7 separate regions of the Homo sapiens genome follow, and all the other regions are linked to region 1. The links are contacts of gene promoters, found by promoter capture Hi-C in blood cells and fetal thymus (Javierre and others, 2016). All regions are on one chromosome and are shown on one strand. The core of a region is centred on a gene start or on the middle of the fragment in contact, and the rest is flanking DNA. Distances in the headings are between cores, read along the strand shown. Region 1 holds the start of TMEM108 (transmembrane protein 108). Region 2 overlaps BFSP2 (beaded filament structural protein 2). Region 3 holds the start of BFSP2 (beaded filament structural protein 2). Region 4 overlaps NPHP3 (nephrocystin 3). Region 5 overlaps TMEM108 (transmembrane protein 108). Region 6 overlaps NPHP3-AS1 (NPHP3 antisense RNA 1). Region 7 overlaps TMEM108 (transmembrane protein 108).

What was found. The method cuts DNA at HindIII sites, captures the fragments that hold promoters and counts their contacts. A CHiCAGO score of 5 or more calls a contact.
Region 2: a contact is called between a fragment that was not itself captured here and the fragment with the promoter of TMEM108 in region 1, in 1 of 17 cell types (megakaryocytes). The highest score is 5.3, in megakaryocytes.
Region 3: the fragment with the promoter of BFSP2 here is called in contact with the fragment with the promoter of TMEM108 in region 1 in 6 of 17 cell types (megakaryocytes, endothelial precursors, erythroblasts and 3 more); the score reaches 21.7 in megakaryocytes.
Region 4: a fragment that was not itself captured here is called in contact with the fragment with the promoter of TMEM108 in region 1 in 1 of 17 cell types (megakaryocytes); the score reaches 5.0 in megakaryocytes.
Region 5: a fragment that was not itself captured here is called in contact with the fragment with the promoter of TMEM108 in region 1 in 1 of 17 cell types (megakaryocytes); the score reaches 7.2 in megakaryocytes.
Region 6: a contact is called between a fragment that was not itself captured here and the fragment with the promoter of TMEM108 in region 1, in 4 of 17 cell types (megakaryocytes, endothelial precursors, M2 macrophages and 1 more). The highest score is 11.1, in megakaryocytes.
Region 7: a fragment that was not itself captured here is called in contact with the fragment with the promoter of TMEM108 in region 1 in 1 of 17 cell types (megakaryocytes); the score reaches 8.4 in megakaryocytes.

What each region holds. Positions count from the first base shown.
Region 1 is chr3:133,036,702-133,039,958 of GRCh38, forward strand. TMEM108 (transmembrane protein 108) reads left to right here and starts at 1,690. Exons shown (of 6, transcript NM_023943.4): 1 at 1,690-1,734. RefSeq lists an enhancer at 1,384-1,678. The HindIII fragment of the contact is 5,754 bases long and covers 1-3,257 here.
Region 2 is chr3:133,452,007-133,455,263 of GRCh38, forward strand. All of the region lies in intron 4 of BFSP2 (beaded filament structural protein 2), which reads left to right. All of the region lies in intron 2 of BFSP2-AS1 (BFSP2 antisense RNA 1), which reads right to left. Among named protein-coding and RNA genes, the nearest start is that of BFSP2-AS1, 37 kb to the right of the region's middle. The HindIII fragment of the contact is 532 bases long and covers 1,303-1,834 here.
Region 3 is chr3:133,398,522-133,401,778 of GRCh38, forward strand. BFSP2 (beaded filament structural protein 2) reads left to right here and starts at 1,535. Exons shown (of 7, transcript NM_003571.4): 1 at 1,535-2,051. The coding sequence starts at 1,563. The HindIII fragment of the contact is 8,153 bases long and covers 1-3,257 here.
Region 4 is chr3:132,711,902-132,715,158 of GRCh38, forward strand. It overlaps NPHP3 (nephrocystin 3), which reads right to left. Exons shown (of 27, transcript NM_153240.5): 5 at 3,184-3,257; 6 at 1,225-1,385. NPHP3-ACAD11 (NPHP3-ACAD11 readthrough (NMD candidate)) reads right to left here. Exons shown (of 45, transcript NR_037804.1): 5 at 3,184-3,257; 6 at 1,225-1,385. Among named protein-coding and RNA genes, the nearest start is that of NPHP3-AS1, 8.2 kb to the right of the region's middle. The HindIII fragment of the contact is 162 bases long and covers 1,927-2,088 here.
Region 5 is chr3:133,347,704-133,350,960 of GRCh38, forward strand. All of the region lies in intron 3 of TMEM108 (transmembrane protein 108), which reads left to right. All of the region lies in intron 5 of LOC101927432 (a long non-coding RNA gene), which reads right to left. Among named protein-coding and RNA genes, the nearest start is that of BFSP2, 51 kb to the right of the region's middle. The HindIII fragment of the contact is 8,814 bases long and covers 1-3,257 here.
Region 6 is chr3:132,755,009-132,758,265 of GRCh38, forward strand. All of the region lies in intron 3 of NPHP3-AS1 (NPHP3 antisense RNA 1), which reads left to right. Among named protein-coding and RNA genes, the nearest start is that of NPHP3-ACAD11, 34 kb to the left of the region's middle. The HindIII fragment of the contact is 2,906 bases long and covers 62-2,967 here.
Region 7 is chr3:133,318,661-133,321,917 of GRCh38, forward strand. All of the region lies in intron 3 of TMEM108 (transmembrane protein 108), which reads left to right. Among named protein-coding and RNA genes, the nearest start is that of TMEM108-AS1, 63 kb to the left of the region's middle. The HindIII fragment of the contact is 1,567 bases long and covers 694-2,260 here.

The DNA of each region.
Region 1 (3,257 bases), core at 440-2,939:
TGTTCTCAAGCATGGATGGATATCAAATTGCCAGTAGAACTTTTTAAACCTATAGCTGCCCAAGCCCCACTTCTCATCCCAATCAGAATCTCCAGGCACAGGGCCCCACAACCTACTTCCATAAATACTTACCATCCAGCTAGGCTTGAGAACCACTGGTTTAATGACAGCAAACAAACTTTTTTTGAGGCTTTCAAAACATTTTTCTTGCTTAGACATTTCTTTACTCCTGCTGTAGCCAGAACCATTGCTGTGACAGGTTTAACATGTTCCCAGAAACTCTGAATTTTGTGCGATGCCATCTCTGATAGGGACAATGTGATGAACAATGTCTGAGATTGCTAGGTGGGCTTCACTTCTGGGGATGAGAAGCCAGAGAAGTTCAGGACACACTGACAAAGGTGAAGTTTTCTCTAAGCGACAGTTTGATCACCTTGATAGTGAGAGAGAAATGCTGAAGCAGGGTTATACCACCTGGTTTCAAGAGATGAGAGATGAAGGTTTTGGAGAATTCAGCACTTAAGAATCTTGAACCACGGCGGTACACTACTGGGTAATAAGAGCTTGGCTACGCTGAACGACAAAGGTTCTAGCTGGCCAGTCCGAAAACACTGAGTCCTTAGGTCAAATTTGAGAAATGACAGGGCCAGTGGGAGTCCTAACTTCTAGACTCTGGAATTACTGACAGAAGAATATTTGGACAGTTTTTAAGACCCTCAAGGCATATTATTTTACAACCTCTTTAGCTTATGCCTGAATTTGTGCTGTGACTGTTAGCTTCCCGGATGTTTTCTCCACATGCTTCTTTCTGAACTAGCCTGTATAGTTCTACAACAAATTGTTACGTTTTGAGAAGCAGGGACCACTTATACCACTTCTCTGGCCAAGTGTCTGGCACCGCGCCACTCAGACACACACGCCCAACCCTTTAGGATTAACGTAGACACAGTGTTCTCTTCCATGGCCATTCCGTCTCCACTTCTGGTTCCACACTCCAGTCACCAAGTTGGCATGATTGCTGCTCCATAGACCAAGGGTGGGTAATGTGGGGATTAAACACACCTTCCCTCAGCTGGTGCCCAAACTGTAAGCATCACCGGGACACCCCATGTAGCCACAGGAACGCTTCTCATCAGTGGAAGAAGGACAAGAAAGGTCGTGCAAGTTTCAAATTACGTGGAGCTGGGGCTACAGCCATTACTTTCGGACAGGTGCAATTCAAAGCGTGATCCTCCGACCAAGAGCTTCGTCATCGCCACCTGGGAGCTTATTAGAAATGCAGGATCTCAGGTCTCCACCCCAGACCTTCTGGATCAGAATCCGCATTTTAACAAGAGAGTCAAGTGATTCTTATTTATATTAGAATTTGAGAAGTCAATTGATCTGGTAATTGATCAACTGAGTGCCACTTAGCCCCCGAAAACAGAGACCCTTTGTGCCCGCCTCGCACCCGCTCTGCTAGGTAGCAACCGAACCCCCAGAGACATCGGAGCGGGCGCTGCCGAGGGCAATTTGGTGATTGGCTGGTCTCACCACGTGACCGGCGCTGAGCCTTCCGTGCGACCGGATTGGCTGTCGCGGACGCTGACGGACAAGGCCGGGGCGGGCCAGAGCCTGGTCGGAGGGGCGCGCGCGGGGGCCCGAGGGGCGAAGGCGCGAGTGCGCGAGAGCGCGTGCGCGAGCGGTGGGGCTTTCTCCTGAGCCGTCGGAGGGAGCCGGAGCGCTTCTCCCGAGGTAAGCGGCGCTCCGGGGCGTCCCCCCAGTCCTTCCCATGCTGGGTCCCGGCAAGCGGGTTAGGCTGGGCTGGGCGGGGCTCGGGGAGGTGTGGGGTCAGCTTGCCCCGGGAGCCCAGCTTCAGGGAGGATGCAGCCCCGGTTGCCTTGGTTTCCCTTTTCCTATCCTCTCAGGCACCTTCCCATCCTCCCCACTGCGTGACGGGTCTGCCCGAGGGGAGTTGCCCACCTGGCAGCCCTGCCTCCGCCTTTGTTTCCCGCCTGGAGGGTTGCTGGCATGAACCCCCTCCCCAGGTGGAGGGTGCGGGTGATGGGGCGCGGGCGTCAGGAGCGCTGGACCTGGGCTGGGGCCGAGGAGGAGGTGGCTTTAATGCAGGGGGACCTGTCACATGGGGAAACGAAGAAGAAGAAATGTAGTGTCACTTTGGCCAGCCCGAGGGACTCGAACTAATCCTGCGGCCGCGAGCGGAGCCGAATTCCTAGCGCAGCTGTGCGAAGAGCCCTCCTGCCTAGGTGCCGGCGGCCTCGCCGGGGACGGAGCCTCCGTGCTGCCCGGGAGGTTGCTCTGCCGGCTGGACCTGGCGGTTTTCACCCCAGAGTTGCAGCGAAATTGAACGCTTTGAGCCTGCTGGAGGAATCCAGAGATTGGTTCAGGGGCTATTTTTTTTTTTAAGCAGTTGGGCACCGGTGGAGCCGGTCTAAATGAAAGTCTACAAAAACCAATTTCAGATGCAGCGTAACTGATGACTGGTAAATGGTGAGGAGGGAAATGCCTGCAGTGAACTGCAGACCACCACACTGAGATTCTTCCTTAAGAAGATAGGGGTTTTTTTCGGAGGAAAGGTTGTAGTTTCTGCAAACAGGTTTTTCTGGGGGTACCCAGGAAGGTTATTACTTATTTTCAGCATGTTACTGGGTTGTGGGGAGAGGGAAGGCAGGGTCTAAACTAAACCTACTCACACGTCCTTAATTCTTTGAAAAGTGTGTGCTCGATGAAGACCATTTGGCTGCCAAAAGAGGTTTGTATGGGAGTCCGGGGGAGATGGATTGTTGCCTTTAAATCATACTTTAAAAAGGGGAAGGTATGTCCAGGAACTTAAGAGCAGGTCAAGCTATGGAAAGTATTCCCTGCCTCTCCTCCATTTCCCCAGACAGCTCATAGGCAAACATAAAAAGTCCCTTCAATTTTCCACGGGTTAACTTCTTGATTTGTTGGATACACCTGGTAATCTACTCTGTAAGAAATGGTTCAACTAACTCATTATGAAGATATTACTGTGTTCTGGACTTTCCACGTAATTTATTCAGAACTCTTTCTGGTATGAGATGGATAAGGGTCTCTCTACCTTGTCCCTTGGAGACATCCTGATACCTTCAAAGCCCTTTATAGCTCTTACATTCCCTGTACAACAACATGTTTCTTTAGGAAATGACCTGATTTCAAACCTCTAAAACACACCCCATGCCTGTGAAATGCCTACACTTGCCAAGAATTCAGTTTACTAGGCAAGATAAATATATTTT
Region 2 (3,257 bases), core at 319-2,818, 420 kb after region 1:
TTAGTGGTTCTTGATCCTGGCTACGCAGCAGAATTATTTCAGAGCATTTTCAAAAATCGCCATCCCAGACCAACCAAATCAGACAGAGGAGAGGGACTTTGTGATTTTTAAAGCTCTCTGGATGATTCTAATATGCAGCCAGATTTGAGAACCATAAGAATTATAAAAAGCTATGAAAAGAAAAATAGGAGAGGCTTTTCTGTCCTTTCTCCCACCATACTCCCTCTATCCCCCAAGTATCAACAAGAACCTTCCCAGCAGGGTCTTCATCAATTCTGGATTCCCAAAATGTTCTCCAGCCTAGAAAACATCCTTTCACTCACCCATTTCTCCAACCCCTACCCCGTTTCAATAGCTTCCTTTCTTTCTAACCACCAATCATTGAGCCAGGTCACTACAAACACTTTTTTATGGCAAATAGAGCCTAGTTATTCAAAAAATGACTTCCCCTCGCCCCACCCAACCTGATGAGAAGTGGAGCAACACAGAGGTAAAGTGAAGCCATAGATTTGAGTTTGGTCCATTGCCTTTTTTAACAGACTCATGACAGATAACAGATAATTAATGGTCCTAGAGACCATCTGATCCCATTCCCTAATTTTAGGTGTGAGGAAACTGAGACCCAGAGAGTGCAGGTGACTTCCCACGATCACACAGCTGGTTGAGAGCTCCATAGTTCAACTCTCCTGTTCTTGGTCCAGAGACCTTTTCTCTGCATTGGGCTGCATCGTTTCTCCCCTGGCTCTGCTTCTAAAGCTAAACCTCAGAGGCCCAGCAGTTTGCAAACTTTGCTTCTGTCCCAGCCCTCCTGCGGTGTGCACCACACTGTGGTAACTGTTTCTTTGGGAAAGGACAGACTATTATAATTATCAGAAATAAATCCTTCATAGTATGAAAAAGAAAAAAAAAAGGTCATTATTATCTCCTCCTCACCCCTTGGAGAATCATCACTAGCCCAACAGTAACTCAAACATTAATTCTGAACAGATTCATTAGTGTTTTTTTAATAGAGTAATCTGAAAGCTACATCTCAGAGAAAACAGACAGTATTTGTTTTAGCTTGGCCAATGCTGCCTGGGCCTCTTGCAGAAAGGCAGAGCTCAGAAAATATTTGCAGAATGAGTGAATTCCTCTGATCATCAACAGAGATCTGAACTGACAGCCAGAATTCCTCCAATAAATAGTTTTGTCAGTTGCAGTTGTGCCCTCAGGGGCTGACATTTGCCCATCCTGAGCATCTCTTGTCGGTTTCTTGGCGGCATAGCATAAATGTGAAATGGCTTAGCACACACAGCTTTCAAAAGCTTTTGTAAAGAAAATGCAAGCATGCATTTAATTACCTTTCGGACCACAGAGGCTGAAAATTAATTAACATGATTAATTTATATCTTAGTTTAGGTTCCTTCAGAAGCAGATCCTGAAACAAATATTGGAGTTAAGGTAGTTTACCTGGAAGTTGGGGAGTTAAAAACCAACAAAATACCAGTAGAGGAGAAGCAAAGAAGGGAACCAACAAAGAATGCCTAATCAAACCAGTTACCACTGTGGGAGACTGACGTGTAAACCAAGAAGAATTGTGAGAAACGGTATAGACTACAGGAGAGGGGAAAGGCAAGGGAGCTGAGATGTTAATACCATCTCCCAACAGTTTTCTGCCATCTGCTATCAGAGTGGCCTTCCAAAGGCTTCAGAGAAACTCTCAGGCAAAAAGATGCAGAATCTGGCAGGGGGAACAGGAGAGCACTAAACTGCGAAAGCCTAAGGGATAAAGGTGGTACCATCAGCATCTGCTAGAACTTATCTGCCAATTCTGTTTATTTTTTCAGTCATTAAAAGCTTAATAAAATAGAGACATAAAAAAATTTATTAAGAGGTTCTGGCTAAGGTCAGTGCAGTATTCATATTCTTTCCAGCTATGGTGTTACGAATGTCAGGAACCTCATGGTCCAGTTTTTGAAGCTTCTGAAGTTGTATGATTCAGTGATGACAGGATCAGATTGGTCCAGAGAATTTCTGGAGGGTCTTAAAGTCTAGTTCTTCCTTGTCTATTTGTTGTGGTTACCTAATGCAGGGTACTCAGGGATGCTTCAGGAACCTCAGACAACATGCCACACCACACTCTAGACCTCCTAGTTAGTCAAGTAAAACAAAACAACTTTTTTTTTAAGTTGGGCACTGTGGCATGTGCCTGTAGTCCTAGCTATTCAGGAGGCTGAGGCAGGAGGATTGCTTGAGGCCAAGAGTTCAAAGGAGAAGTACACTATGATCATGCCTATGGATAGCCACTCTACTCCAGCCTGGGCAACATGGTGAGACCCCATCTCTTTTTTAAAAAATCCTTTTTGTCCCCTATGCTCTTACAAAATGCTTCTGACACCAAATATGTAGGTTTGTTCCACACCAAGCAGATCTCCAAACACCAACTGAGTGTCCTATAATTCAATTCAATCCTGACACTACCTGCCTGAAGTAGTATCAGATCCCACAGGTTAAGGGCTCAGTCCCATAAGACAGCCCTCACTTCAGATGACAAGTCTGGCCCTCCCATACTTCGGATGAACTGGCTATAAATTAGGGGTTCCCACAACCTCCTCTGCAGAGGGATAAGTAGATAGTTTGCTAGAACAGTGCCCAGAACTCAAGGAAACACTTTACATATTTTTGCCAGCTTATTATAAAGGATACAATTCAGGAGCAGCCAAATGGAGGAGATGCTTAAGGCAACGTATGTGAGAAGGGGCACAGAGTCCCCAACTCCAAATTTTTGACTCTATTATAATAACACTTGGCTTAAAATGCAAACACGTCATACAGCTATACAAAAATATTCTTTCTTTTATCCTTATTCTATAAGCTTGTTTTCTATTTTTAAGAGGGGGTTTTTTTAACCTTTTAAACTTTTTTTGTTAAAAACTAAGACACATACATACACATTAGCCTAGGCCTACACAGGGTCAGGATCGTCAATATCACTGTCTTCCACCTCCACATCTTGTCCCACTGAAAGGTCTTCAGGGGCAGTGACATGTGTGGAGCTTTCAGCTCCTGTAACAACAATGCCTTCTTCTGGAATTCCTCCTGAAGGACCTGCCTGAGGCTGTTTTACCGTTAACTATTTTTCTTTTTTAATAAGTAGGAGTATGCTAATGATAAAAAGTATAGATACAGTAAATACATAAACCAGTAACATTTACTATTGTTAGCAAGTGTTATGCACTGCACATAATTGTATGTGCTAGACTTTTATATGACTGGCA
Region 3 (3,257 bases), core at 285-2,784, 360 kb after region 1:
AGGAAGTGCACACAGGGTCCTCTAGTAGGCGACCAGGTTTTTTACCTCTACCTGCGTGACCTCAGGTAGGTACTCTGCTCTCTGGGTGGTGGGCAACAGGGAGGCTCCTAAGTAAGTCAGTGGCCCAGAGTTTGGAAGAGGTTGTCTGCCCCCAGCTCTGCTACTTTCTGGACATAGAACCTTGGGCAAGTCATTGCAGCTCTCGGGGTCCTCCTCACATAAGAGGACAGTGGCCAACTGTAGGACATGTCATTTTAGAGCTGTGAGGTACACAGCCCATATGGCAGTACCTGTCAACCCTGGACCTCCTTCCTCCTGAGGTTGAGTTGAGAATTCCACGAAATAAACCATAGGATTCATGCACACACCAGGCTGGATCTGCTACTCACTAGAGATTGACTCCCTTCTCCTTCTCTCACCTGAGGTACATTCCTACATTACAGCATCTGGAAAAGTATCCAGCTCTGGGGTTTGGTGACCTGGTTTCTCCAGGGTAAAACTTATGTACAGAGGTTTTTAGGTCCATGTTGTCATCCTGTAACTGGGGGAACCTTTCTGATCCTAGAGAAGTGATTGAGGTGTGACCCTTGGTGGCTTAGTGGATGCCAAGGTCAATAATTAAAACCCAGGGGTGTCATCATATCCTAACTTGGGGCACCCTTGGAGAGGCTTACCAGAAAACACCCTCGTTGTTGTTTTTATTTCTCAGTTTTCCAACAGATGGAGAAGCAGAGGTGTAGGGAATGGCCGGAACATGTGTGGGATCTGAATTTGCCCAAGGTCCTTATCTGGTGCATCAGAGAGTTAAAGGCCCAAGCCAATGTTCAGACAGTGAGGTCCAGAGGGAGGAAGCATCCTGGCCAACAGCAAGCAGCTGATGAACAGCAGAGCATTAGAGGACAGAGATGAGGAGGAAAGGAGAGAGGTGAGGGAAGGACCTGAAGCTGCTGCCAGGACTGAGAGAGGAAACCATAGGCAAGTCTTTTCTCTTGGGTCCCTGGAGCTGCCTCCTGCCATTTTTCATCCTCTATTGCCTGTGTGGACATGTGTTCACATTCACATGTGCCAGCACACATAGGGATGTAGAAAGCCCTGAAATAGCTAGATTGAGTCCTAGCTTGTAATCTGAGGTCTGGGGCAAGTGATCAGTACACTTGTCATCTGAGGTCCTTGAGCCTCAGTTTACTCATCTGTAAAATGGGGTTGCTTGATGCCTGCCTTGCCCACTTAGGTAGTAAAATGCACAAACCCAAATGGTCTACCTCCACAGCCTGCACTGATCCAGCCTCCCCCACCACCAGCAGAATAATCTGGGAGGTTGGGCACATGACCCTGCATCAAAGAATGCATGAGTGCCTCTCTGCACACAGCCCTGGGCAGTGCCCATTTCTCTTTCAGCTCAGTGAATGATGGAAACTCATGGAAGACAGCAGACAAAGCAGCCCCAGGGATAGGGGAGATTCCAGAGAGGCCCGTGACCAGGCCACAGGGATGCTGGGGCTGTAAACCAAAAGCCACTGGACTCTGTAAACCCACTGGGCACCACAGAGGCAGAAGGGGTGATGAGTGAGAGGCGAGTGGTAGTGGACTTGCCCACCAGTGCCAGCTCCAGCATGCCCCTCCAGAGGCGCAGGGCGTCCTTCAGGGGGCCACGGTCATCATCCTCCCTGGAGAGCCCCCCAGCCTCCAGGACCAATGCCATGAGTGGCCTTGTCCGAGCACCCGGGGTCTATGTAGGAACAGCACCCAGTGGGTGCATAGGTGGCTTGGGTGCCCGTGTGACCCGCCGGGCCCTCGGCATCAGCAGTGTCTTCCTTCAGGGCCTGCGGAGCTCAGGCCTGGCCACCGTGCCGGCTCCAGGTTTGGAGAGGGACCATGGTGCTGTTGAGGACCTAGGGGGCTGCCTGGTGGAATATATGGCCAAAGTGCACGCCCTTGAGCAAGTCAGTCAGGAGCTGGAAACACAACTGCGGATGCACCTGGAGAGCAAAGCCACACGCTCGGGAAACTGGGGTGCCCTACGGGCTTCCTGGGCCAGCAGCTGCCAGCAGGTAAGTGTCCAGGCTGTGCCAAGGGCTTTGCAGAGGGCTGGGAGGGGCTGCTGAAGGCAGCGGGTAGGGTTGTGAGTAGGCTGAGGCCAGAGAAACTGACCATAATCCCCTACACTTTCACACTTAAAATGGTAATGATAACAACAATGCTACCTTTTACCGAGGTTTACTAGGAGCCCACGCTAGCCCCCATACGTGCACTACCCACTGTCTTCTTTAAACTTCAAAGAAATGCTATGCAGTGGATCATTCACTGATTGCATTTTTCAGATGAGAAACTGAGGCATGTAATTTGCCCAAGACTTCAAAGCTAGTAGAGGGATGGAGATGAGATTTGAACCTGAATTTTTGTGCCTCCAAAGTTGCATTTGCCCCATTACCCTGGGGCTGCCTCAGTCACCTTTACTGTTGAGAAGGGATTTTTACAGCTATTATCCAATCAAATACCATTGGATGGATGAGGTGTTAAGAACAATGAATAAATGGAGGTGTGTTCCTGTATCCACCTACAACCACGCTGTTCAATAGAAATATGAACTACATTGGTAATTGACAAGTTTCTATTACCCACAGTAAAACACGTAAAAAGAAGCAGGTGAAGTTAATATTATAGCTTATTTAACTCTATATGTCCAGAATGTTATTTCAACATGTAATCAATACAAAATATATTAATGAGGTAATTTACATTCAAGTAGAGCTTTCTGCGTGATGGAAATATTAATATCTTATATCTGCACTGTCCAATCTGGCAGCCACTAGCCATATATGGCTATCAAGCACTTGAAATGTGGCTAATGAGACTGAGGAATTGCATTTTTATTTTATCTAATTTTCATTAATTTAAATGTAAACAGCCACAGGTAGCTAATGGCTATCTTATTGGACAGGGAAGGATGCAGAGGTTTCATCTTTCTCCCTTGCTTGGTCAGCCCTGCTTTTCCCACTCTCCAGGGTGATTTCTGCGGAGTCTGGAGCACATCCATCATGTCTGGCCTGCAGCCTGTAGTTCTAATGCTGGGACTCCAGCCAGCATTACACCTCTCAGCTGGTCTCTCTGTGGATAGCTGGCTTCACCTCTCCTCCTCCTCTTTCTCTCCAGATGCTGGCCTTGGGATCCCTCTGAGCAAAATCAGTCTCTAACCCACCAGGGACTGCCAACTCAGACCCTTGGCCCCCTGGAGTCCAGTATGCAGCCTCCCAAGA
Region 4 (3,257 bases), core at 758-3,257, 320 kb before region 1:
AAAGTCTTAAGGGTCTACAATGGGTTATGCTACAGGGAAACTGGTGAAACTTAAGGCCTTACATATATCTATACACAGTTAAAGTCAGAGTTGGTCCACAATTAAAAAAGCAAAATGCTTTGGAAAGGTTAAATTTAGACAGTAAATCTAGAAAGAAAAATTAGCCTCTTATTAAACTTATTTTGTCCTTTATCTCTATATCTAACTGGTGAAAAAAAATCTTTACTTGCAGACAAGATTCATTAGCATGATTATATTCACATTATAAGAACATTGTTCACTTTACTGGGTCTATTTAAATAGTAAGCTCCTCAAAAAATGTAAATTATGATTCAACACCTACACAAGTGATCAAGTACATGAACTTTATATGTAAAATACATAGTTCAAATACCTCTCAGTTTGTATCCAAAGAAAGAAAAGAATGAAGGTTAATGTTGATTATTGAAATTAGGGGTTATCAACTTTTTCTGTAAAAGGCCAGATAGTAAACAACTCAGGTTTTGTAGGACACATGGTTTCTGTTGTAAAGATTCAACTTTGCTATTATAGTATGAAGGCAGCTGTAGAAAATACACGAATGGGCCAGGTGTGTTGGCCTACGCCTGTAATCCCAGCACTTTGGGAGGCCAAGGCAGGGGGATCACAAGGTTAGGAGATTGAGACCATCCTGGCTAGCACAGTGAAACCCCATCTCTACCAAAAATACAAAAAATTAGCCAGGCGTGGTGGTGGGCGCCTATAGTCCCAGCTACTCAGGAGGCTGAGGCAGGAGAATGGTGTGAACCTGGGAGGTGGAGCTTGCAGTGAGCCGAGATTGCGCCACTGCACTCCAGCCTGGACGACAGAGCAAGACTCTGTCTCAAAAAAAAAAGAAAAAAAAATTTATATATATATGAATGAATGAATGTGGCTGTGTTCCAATAAAACTTTATTTACAAAAGCAAACTCCTGGCTAGATTTGGCCCTTGGGCTATATTTGCCAAACTCTGATTAAAATAAGCTAAAAATTAAGGTGTTGATCATATGACCTATGAAACAAGTCTAACAGCTTAAAACTTTTAATTATTTTATTTAAGTGTGAAACAGTTGTAGAATTTATTGAATTTCATGGATTTTTTTATTATAAGGATGCAATAAAATTTATCTTTGAAGCTTATTTGGCAAACTCAATTCTATTTACAGTTTACTGCTTATAATAAATTACATTTTTTTTCAGCTTACCTTGGTAATGTTAAGTGAATAAATAAAATAACTAAAGAACTTTTCTCAATTTCCCATTTTCTTACAGTGAGGTATTGATTTTCAACATCTATTGGAAAATAAACAGCATGGAAAAAATATCCCATTGTCTCGCACATTCTCTTAAGTTTAGGTGAATAGTCCTAAAAACAAATGAAAACATACAAAAGTTTAATGTATTTAACTAAAGATCAAGTGAGATTCATACTACTTAAAATAAAAAGCACGCTTTAAAACAGGTTATACTGGATATCTTTTCATATAAAATTTTAAAAATAATCACATTTTAAAGAAAATCTTAAAAAGGCAAGTTTCTCTCAAATACAAATAATAATAGCTTAGCAACTTGGCCTTTTTCTAGCTCAGAAAATGACTTATTTCATAGTAAAGCTAGAACAACAGGAGACAGTATTAGGCTATTTTGCTTTGGTATTTGTTTCTTTTTGTTATTATTACTATGAACAATCTGTTTTATTGTCATAAAGAGTGCAAAATATAGATCCATAAATCTGTATAGTAAAAAACATCCACGATGATATATCAGAACGCTAAAGCAGAGCGATATAAGTTAAAAACACATAAATCTATAATTAAGTTAGTAAGTAATGATGACTATTATTATGAAAGAAATCAGTAATGCCCTCAAAATGTCGTTGGGAATAACATTTTCAATTACTGGATGGAAGCTTTGGGCTTTAAAATATTTTATCTTTTTACTAAAATTGAATAATATCACAAAGGAAAGCTAAATGAATTTGGTAATCAACAACAGGGAAGATGTTAATATAGCAGGTATAGCATGTGACACACAGATTCTATAAAATTCCCTTGGAACACTGGTAGGCAAGCTTTTTATATAAAGGGTTAGATAGCAAATATGTCTACAAAAATAATAATAGCTTTACAACTTGGCTGCTTTAGCAGGGATCTTTGTGGCTTATTTGGTTTCTATCACAATTTACTCTGCCATTGAATTGGTGTTGTAGTGCTGCCATGGATGATACGTAAACGAATGAGTGCAGCAATGTTCTAATAAAACTTGATAGACACTAAGATTTGTATTTCATATAATTTCCACATGTCATAAAATATTATTCTCCTTTTGATTTTTTTCTACCACTTAAAATGTGAAAACCAATCTTATCTCTGGGCCATTTAAAACAGGCAGCAGGCCAGATTTCACCAACTGGCTATAGTGACCCTTGCCTTAGAATAACTCCAACGGCTGCCTTGGAAAATTTAAACCACAGTAAGGAGAAAATTTTACTACCTGAGACAGACTCAAGGATAGAGCTGGAAGAGAGAGTAACTAAAGTAGACACAATCAACAAGAGTCTTAAACATTGTGGAGAATATGCAATGAAAAATTCACTAAACAAGCCTAGGCAACACAATGAGTCACTTTCTCTGCAAAAAAAAAAAATAAATAAATTAAATTAGCCGTATGTGGTGGTGTGTACCTGTAGTCCTAGCTGTTCTGGAGGACTGAGTGGGAAGATTGCTTGAGCTCACGAGTTTTAGGCTACAGTGAGCTATGACTGTGCCACTGCCCTCCAGCCCAGGCAACAGAGCAAGACACTGTCTCAAAACAAGCAAACAAACACACAAACAAAAAAAAGTCCAGAAAGTTCCAACACCTTAGTTTGACATTTAAAACTAACTAAAACGAGTTAAAACCTTCTTTTTCTGTCTTAGCTCCTGTCCTAGGAAAGTTAATTCCAGAAAGTAAAAATAAATAAATAAACTCTCAATTCACCACCTTTCTTTACATATAATATTGAACAATATTTTCTCTTAAGAAAAGCCCAAGACGCTTCCTGTTCTTTAAGACATATAATCTAGTAGGAAACTATTTGGTTGAGATACAGTAGTATCAGAAACAGAATATAATATTAACTTATATTTTAAATTGGTTGATACAGAATTTATAAATATCCTCACCTTAAGGAAAAGATCCATCTCAGGCTGGGTTTCATCTGTATAAATGAGGTAACATCTGACAGTGTTACTCCACA
Region 5 (3,257 bases), core at 511-3,010, 310 kb after region 1:
TTCTTTATCTATATGTAAATTATACCTCACTAAAATAAGTTAATAAAAACGTAATACTTCCCCTATATAGCAGGAGTGACTATGTAGAATATATAAAGAAATTTTTTTCATAATTGCAACAGAAAAACTTAATATTTAACCAACACAGAAAGAAAACTATAAAGCCTCACTGCAAGAAGGAGCATAAAAGAAGATTTGAATTAATGAAGAGAGAGATCACATTCTATCTCAAAGGGAGATTTAATATTGCCAGGATTGCCCAAATTAGTTATAATAAATAGCCTTATTGAAATCCAAATCAAAATTCTAATAATGGAATTCTTAATTAACCTATGGAAAATGAGTCCAAAGTTTATCTAAAAGTATAAACAGAAACAAGTAGTAAAGATATTTTTGAAAAACAAGAGTAATGAGGGGGGGGCCAGATTTGCTTTACCAAAAATCAAAACATGTCATTAAGTAATATTAATCAAAATATTGTATTACAAATATAAGAGAACAGATTAGGGTAACTAGATAGCCCTGAAACAGTTTGTTTATAACAGTTTTATTATATTTTTAAAATTTAAATATAATAAAGGTAGCAGTTCAAAATCTGGGCAAAGGATAAGTCAGTAAATGGTATTAGGAGAATTAATTACTTGGAAAAAATAAGTTAGAGCTTCATCACACACAGTATATCAAGGTAAATTACAAATGGATTGAACTTTTTGTCTTTGGTTTCTCAGGAAACCTTGGGGAGAAGTCTTAGTATAGGGCATTTAGTGTTGAGTGCACTGGGAGATAGAGTGAAGCGGAGTGGAGGCGGGCAGTCCCTCTAATACATGCTAATATGAAGAGCTCAGCTGACTCCACAGGTAGCTGGGGAGCTGGGCTAGCCCATCACAGCTGTCCCAAATTGAGACAAGGGCCTGTGTTCCCTGACATCAACCAGGTGTTGAATGTGGGATTTACCCTGGAGGGGCATGGTGTAGGGTGAGGCAACTCCCTTTGGCTCAGTGAGATTTCTGGGAGAGAGATTGAACAATGAGCCATCAGCATCCAACAGTCCAAGAAATTCGGGAATGAGAGCCTAAGTCTTCAAGAGGGGACCTGAGTGGCACACAACATCCACTACATAGTGTAGAAGATGAAATTATAAAACAAATAGAGGAAAATATTGGTAAATATTTCCAAAAACAGGATTGGGAAGGACTTTTCTTTGGTCAAAAACAAAACAAAACTCCATAGACAAAACAAAATCAAAGGCAGACAAACTATTGGGGGAAAATATTTTCAGTAAACATGATTGTTACCAAGTTTCTAGCCTTGACATATTAAAAAATACTCACAATAGATTTTTAAAGACTAATATTACAGGAAAAAAGCAGACAGTGCTCTTGAGCAAAAGAAAATATACAGGTGAGCAATAAACTTCTGGAAAAGTGTTCAATTTCATTAATAGCCAAAGGAATACAAATATAATACTATTTTTCCCCTTTAAGTTGACCAAAACTGAGGCCTATAGAGTTTAAGTAACTTCTTCAAAGTCCCATCACAGGAACATAACAGAGGAGGCATTCAAATCTAGGGTTGAATGCTGGTTTAATGTGGCACAATATAAACACATGTAATCAAAGCCTCATTAAATAGTAAAGGGATTATTTAAAATAGTAGACCAGAAGAACAAAGAAAACAGGAGAGCAAACACAGCAATATAATTTAAGAAGTTAAAAGCACAGGCAACAAAAGCAAAAATAGACAAATAGGATTACATGAAACTAATAAACATTTGCACAGCAAAGGAAATAGCAGAGTGAAGAGATGGCCTAAAGAATGGGAGAAAATATTTGCAAATTATACATCTGACAAGGGGTTAATATCCAGACTATATAAGGAACTTAATAGCAAAAAAAAAACTAACCTGATTTTTAAATGAGCAAAAGACCTTCACAGACATTTCTCAAGATAAACAAATGGCCAACAGATACATGAAAAAATGCTCATTACTAACCATGAGGGAAATACAAATCAAAACCACAATGAGATACCATCTCATCCAGTTAAAGTGACTATTATTTTAAAAGAGACAAAAGAAAACAAGTGCCGGTGAGGATGTGGAGAAAAGAAAACACTTGCACACTGTTGGTAGGATTGTAAACTAGTACAGCCATTATGGAAAACAGTATGGAAGTTCCTCAAAAAATTAAAAATAGAGCTACCACATGATCCACCAATCCCATTACTGTATATATATCCAAAGGAAATCAGTATATCAAAAGATATCTGCACTCTTAGGGTTATTGCAGCATTATTCAAAATAGTGAAGATATGGAATCAACCTAAGTATCCAACAATGGATGAATAAAGACAATGTGGTATATGTACACAATGGAATACTATTCAGCCATAAAAATGAAGGAAATCCTGTCCTTTGCAACAACATGGATCAGCTTGGAGGACATTATGTTAAGTGAAATAAGGCAGCCACAGAAAGACAAATACTACATGATCTCACCACTCATATGTGGTATCTAAAAAAAGAAAAAGAGGTGATATAGAAGCAAAGAGTAGAACAGTGATTACTAGAGACTGGGAGGGGAGGAAGGAGAGAATGGGGAGAGGATGGTTAATAGGTAAAAGGTTACAACCAGGAGAAATAGGTTCTAGTGTTCTATTGAACAGTAGGGTGACTATGGTTAATAGTAAAACATTGTGTATTACTAAATACTAGAAGAGAGGCTTGTGAAGGTGGTTCTCACCACAAAAAAAAAGATGATAAATGCATGAGGTAATAGATATGCTAAATACCCTGATTTGATCATTATACAATGTAGATATTAACCAAAACATCAAATTGTTCTCTATAAATATGTACAATTCCAATTTGTCAATTAAAAAATAAAAACCAAAATCTAGAAAACAAATGGAGAAAGGGTAACTTCCTTGGAAACCTGATGAAGTTGAATCCTAAACTAGGAGTCAGGAAGACCTAGAACCAACTATAGAACCTCCCAAAACCTTAAGATTCGGCAGTAATTCCAGGAACCCCTGGGAATGGGGGTGGAGGTGGAACTACAGGTCAGAGAATTGGTTGAATGACTATGGAAACACCAAGCATTGTATACAAAAATAGGGTGTAAAGGCAGTTTTACATACTGAATGCTGAGACCCTGGCCCTCTTCCTAGCTTGCTGGCAAAGTATCAGTAACCAGAGCCACACCCTCCAGGCAGGAGACTGAAAGGAAAGATATGACATTGACATCCAGGATTCCCTA
Region 6 (3,257 bases), core at 265-2,764, 280 kb before region 1:
GTTAAAGCTGTGAGGATGAGTGTGTGTGCATATGTGTGTGTGTATGTGTTTTGCCTATATAAGCTTGTCTGTTTATTTTTCAATAATTTAGGTGCTTTGAAACAAAACCTTTTGAAGTTTTCTAAAAACACCTAATGAACAGATTTCATTATAACAAACAAATAAGCAAACATTGCCTTTAGAACTGAAGTAGTATGGATGTATATTATAAATATTTATTGTAGATTATTTGAAAATTATATATTAAATCTGAGAACTTTGATAGAAGAGGGTTTTGGTCTGAAACATATAAATAGAGGTGAATTAAAGCAAACAGAACCTATGATCCTTCACTTATACTATCATTTATGAGTGATTATTGTGGAAACTTTTAAATTAATTTCTTCTCTGGCAGAAAATACATATAGATATTACATTTCATTAAAAAATCTTTTCTAACAATGATTCTTCTCTGTTATCTCACTAATAAGGTCTTTAAAGTATCTTTTTCATTTCTAGCCTATAATGATAAAAACTATCATGAGAAATTTTTCTTCATTGTCCTAGGTTTCAAAAAAATTATACTTTACATATCTCAAAAATTTCCTGTCATTAAAATTGCACTTGTATTATAGGGGGAAAATTCTCATTTCATCAATGAGCCCTAAAAATGCTGATTGGGCAGTGCCTAAAGCCTTATGTCCTGATTGAATTATAACCTGGCACCTCACTCTGCTGCAGTCAAATCTTAGGGTGTTCACCAAACAATTTCTGGGCAAAGGGAGCAATTCAGGACAAAATAAGCCATGTTTTAAATTTATTCCTAGTCATGTGTAAGAGGGACCAGAAGCAGGAAGGTGGAGTTCCCTGGCTGTCTTTCTGGCTTCTTTCTGTGCCATTCATTCATTTAATTTTCAACAATGCTTGGCCTGTTTGCTATCTTCTGAGAGCTAGGGGTCCACTGGTGAGCAAAATCAGATGCTCAACTTATACTCATGGAATTTAGAGAGTTTAGGAGGAATGTGAATAGTAATAAAAACAAATTATGAGTATCAGTGTAAAATTGCAACTGTGAGAAGAGCTGCACAGGAGAGATTACTGGTACCTGGCCAGAGACATTAGGAAAGGCTCTCTGGGGGAGATACTGTTTGACCTAAAGTCTGAAAGGATGAGATGGAATTCCTTAACAGAAAGACCTTTTAGCAAGATGGGATTTAGTGACAGCAGAGAACCAAAAGAAGGATGCAATGGCCAGAACAGATTGCTGAGGGGCAGTGTGGAACTAGAAGAAGCTGGAGATGTGAGCAGGAGCCAGAGAATTCTGGCCTTCATACACCATGGTAAGGAGTTCCCTCTTTATCCCCAAAGCCATGAGAGGCCTTTAAAGGGCTTCGAGTAGTGGTATGTAGTGGTTTGACATGGTCAGATTTGCATTTTGGAAAGATGCCCACTCTGGCTGCAAGGCTGAAACAGATTGTAGGGAGCGATGGTGGTTGGGGAGAGATTAGTTAGGGGGTTACTTTGGAATCCACATGAACCAGGGGAGTGGCCTAAAGTAGCATCGTGGTGGAGGTGGAGAGTAATGGTTATATTTAAGAAAGTTCAGTTTGGAGAGTGGGGGAGAGGGGGCCAGGAGTGAGGCCTAGTTTTCTGGATATGAGACTGGAGAAATGGGGATACCATTTGTTGAGTTAGGAAGCAATGGAGGTGGAAGACCTGGTTTTCAGTAAATGATCATCAATTTTTGTTTCTAATACATTGAGTTTGTAGTTTCTTTGAGGCTCCTGAGGGGAACTGTCAAGGAAGTTTTTGGGTATTGGGGGTCTATTTAGGGATCCCCTGCACTCTGGGCCACGGCTATGCCTGGCCTTTTGGGGGACATTTAAATTTCCCTCACAAACTTTGGAATCTATGTTGGGTTTAGATTTTGGAGGTGAATTCTTTGGCACCAGCCTGTGCTAAATTTCCTCTTAGAAGTTCCAACAGCCCCTAAGGGTCCTGTTGGAACAGAACTCCTCACTCCTCTCCACACACAGCTGCCTTGAACTTCTACCCCATGTCTAGTATCTCCTTAAGTCTTCTTTGAGCTACAGGGAGAGATGACTCCTGGAAATTGCATCCTCAACGCTGGTCAATTTCTTTCCATCTTATCTAGTCTGTTTGAACCATATTCACCAGCAGGCTGTTAGGTCTGGTTCTGTTTATCGATTTGCCTGTGGATCTGTGCTTAGTTGTTTGATGAGGGGCCTTTAATGGTAACCTCTTCTTCCAAGGGCATTATCAGTTTCCTGTTGCTTCTCGGCTGCCTCCAGCTTATACTTCTCATTTCATTTTATTTCAGCTGGAGCTACTTATTAAATGTCATGAAAACTTCCTGCTTATCAGTAGGAGTTTCTGCAGTTCTCAGCTATAGGTAGACCTGAGAATATTGACAAGTGTTGAGCTTACTCATATCACTAGGTTCTGTTTGATAGTTTGTCTCTTAGATAACTACTTCAAAGCAAATTTCTAGAATCCTGTACTTTCAATTTTATAACAAAAAAAATGCTCAGCAAATACAGTAACGACAAATCATTTCCTCTCAAAAGAGCAAGATCATTTTCAGTATATAGATGTCTATTTTTTAACATTGATTGACTCTTTCATATACTTTTTAATTTATTTGACAAATATTTCTTAGGCCCATCTCATGGGTTGAATTAGAAGGAAGAATTCCTTCTATTTCCTTCTATGTCTTTCACTTAGAAATTGACCAAGGACATTTCTGCCGTCCAATTAATCCAGGGAAAAATTAATGGTTCAAATGCTCCTGGCAGCAATAAAGTTAACTAATTTTTACCCAACTTCTCAAAAACTTAATGCTCAAAAAAAAAGAAAGAAAGAAAAAAAAGCCCTTATTCACTTGTTAGAAACACTTTGCTGATTTATTTCTCAACATCCCACTTCTGGTATATTAAAAATACTGACTGGAATGTTTATAAACCTGTAAGCTTCATTCACAATTCTGTGTGAATCTACCTTGTCATAAGATTTTTATTTTTGTCTACTTTAAGTTTAGGCTGCAGAGATAACTTGGCTCACTGTGTCATCTTTTAATTATCATAGATATGTCTACGATAGATAATTTAATTAAAACACCTTGAATATATCTGCAAAAATAAAATGAGATATTTCTCGATGTTTTCCAATTATCACCCTGTGAATTTTACAAGAAAGAAGGAGTGTTATATTCAAAGTGGCTCACACCTCTAATCCTAGCAATTTGGCAGGCTGAGGTG
Region 7 (3,257 bases), core at 227-2,726, 280 kb after region 1:
TCTTTCTCAGCAAATAAATCATAAGAAAAAAGAGAAAGGGAAAATAACATATAGATTAAAAATTACTTAAGAGGGGGAGTTCTGGGAAGATGGTGAATAGGAGACAGGACTGACATGCAGCTCCCATTTGGATGGACAGAATAGCATGTGGAGACTCACACCATGGAATTTTGTTCCAGGAACCACTGCAGGAGCATAACAGGAAAACCAAAATAATTTCTAGATCCTTTGAAAGAAGCAGCAAATTCTGCGAGATAGGCAAAAAAAAAAACTCAGGGGAAGTGTATAGCCTGGGGCTAGGTCTGAGTCCTGTGGACAGGCTGCCTGGAGATAAACTCAGCGCTGTTTGCAGGCCACAGTGGGAGAGAGATTGGCCTCACCAAATGCATGGGAGCTGGGTGAGGCCCATCACAACTGGCTTTCCCCCACTTCCCTGGTGACAGAGGCAACCCTAATCCCCTCTGGAACATAACCCCGTTGGCCCAAGAACCACCCCTTTATCCCCCATGGTAGCTACGGCAAGCCCTTGCCCAAGAAGAGTCTGAGCTGGGTCCTGCCTAACACTGCCCCCGCCTGATGATTTTTCTCTACCTGTCCCGGTAGCCAATCACGAAAGACATAAACTCTTGGGAGCTTTATGACCCTGACCATTGCCTCAGAAACCTGAATACTTATCCTGGCCAACTTAGGGCAAGCTTATATCCCACTTCTGTTGCAGCTGGTGCTTTCTTGAAAGCACGACCTCCTGGCTGTAGGCCAACCAACTCAGGACATTACGGAAACTCATGACAGAACAACCCTGCTGCAAGGAAGGAGAAAACATCTAATTCCATTGCATGCAACATTCTGGCTGACCAGTGGTCCTGAGTCTGTCCACATGACAACTTCACTGCTAACATAACTAGCATTCAAGAAAGCTAGTACACTAAACATATCTAAAACCAAGGACTCTCACAGAGTCTACTTCACTCCCCTGCCACCTCCACCAGAGCAGGTGCCGGTATCCATGTTTGGGAGACCTGAAGATGGATTGCATCACAGGACTCTTTGCAGACATTCCCTAGCGCCAACCCAGAGCCTGGTAGCCCCACTGGGTTGCTAGACCCAGAAGAACAACAATCACTGCAGTCTAGTTCACAGGAAGCCCCATCCCTAGGGGAAGGGGACCCTTCATGGGACCTTCATGAGTCCTTCATGAGACCACCTCATGGGACAAAAGAATCTGAAGAGCAGCCCTTAAGTTCCAGATTTTTCCACTGAAATAGTCTACCCAGATGAGAAGGAATCAGAAAAGTAATTCAGACAATATGACAAAACAAGGTTCTGGCTGGGCGCAGTGGCTCATGCCTGTAATCCCAGCATTTTGGGAGGCTGAGGTGGGAAGATCACTTGAGCCCAGGAGTTCAAGACCAGCCTGGGCAACATAGACTCCATCTCCACATTTAAATAAAACAAGGTTCTATAACACTCCAAAAAGACCATACTAGCTCCCCAGCAGTGGATTCAAACCAAGAAGAAATATCTGAATTGCCAGATAAAGAGTTCAGAAGGTTGATTATTAAGTGACTCAAGGAAATACCAGAGAAAGGTGAAAACCAACTTAAAGAAATTAAAAAATATATACAGGATATGGATAAAAAATGCTCCAAAGAAATAGCTATCATAAAGAAAAAAAAAACAATCACAACTTCTGGAAATGAAAGACACACTTAGAGAAATACAAAATATACTAGAAAGTTTCAACAGTAGAATCAAACAAGTAGAAGAAAGAACTTCAGATCTTGAAGACAAGTTTTTCAAGTTACCCAATGAGAAAAAGACAAAACAAAATGAACAAAGCCTCCAAGAAATTTTGGATTATGTTACATACACAAATGTAAGAATAATTGGTGTTCCTGAGGAAGAAGAGAAATCTAGAAGTTTTGAAAACATATTTGGGGGAATAATCAAGGAAAACTTTCCTGGCCTTGCTAGAAATCTAGACATCCAAATACAAGAAGCTCGAAGGAAACCTGGGAAATGCAACACAAAAAGGTCATCACCCAGGTGCGTAATCATCAGGTTATCCAAAGTCAAGACAGGGAAAAAATCTTAAGAGCTGTGAGGCAAAGTCATCAGGTAACCTATAAAGGAAAACCTATTAGATTAACGGCACATTTCTCAGCAGAAACCCGACAAGCCAGAAGGGATGGGAGTTCTATCATTAACCTCCTCAAACAAAATAATTGCTAGCCAAGAATTTTGTATTGAGCAAAAACTAAGCTTCATAAATGAAGGAGAGATAAAGTCTTTTTCAGACTAACAAATGCTGAGAGCATTTGCCACTCTCAAGCCAGCACTACAAGAAATTCTAAAAAGAGATCTAAATCTTGACACAAAACCTTAAAATACACCAAAATAGAATCTTCTTAAAGCATAAATCTCACAGGGCCCATAAAACAATAACACAAAAAAACAAGGCATTCAGACAACAACTAGTACAATGAATAAAACAGTATGTCACATCTCAATAACATTGAATGTAAAATGGATTAAATGTTCCACTTAAAAGATAGAGAATGGCAGAATAGATAAAAATCCACCAACCAAGTATGTGCTGTCTTCAAGAGACTCACCTAACACATAAGGACTCACAGAAACTTAAGGTAAAGTGGTGGGGAAAGATATTCCATGCAAATGGTCACCAAAAGTGAGCAAGAGTAGCGATTCTTATATCAGACAAAACAAACTTTGAAGCAACAACAGTTTAAAAAGACAAAGAAGGACATTATATAATGATAAAAGGATCAATCCAACTGGAAAATATCACAATCCTAAATATATATGCACCTAACATTGGAGCTTCCAAATTTATAAAACAATTATTACTAGACATAAGAAATGAGATAGACAGCAACAAAAAAATACTCCACTGACAGCACCAGACTTCAGTACTCCACTGACAGCACCAGACAGGTTATCAAGACACAAAGTCAACAAAGAAACAATGAACTTAAACTATGCCCTAGAACAAATGGACTTAACAGATATTTACAGAACATTCTACCCAATAACTGCAGAATATACATTCTTTTCATCATCACATGGAACATTCTCCAAGACAGACCATATGATAGGCCACAAAACAAATCTCAATGAATTGAAGAAAGCCAAAATTATACCAAGTGCCCTCTCAGACCACAGTGGAAAAAAACTGGAAATTAATTCCAAATGGAACCCTCAAAACTATAGAAATACATGAAAATTAAATAATCTGC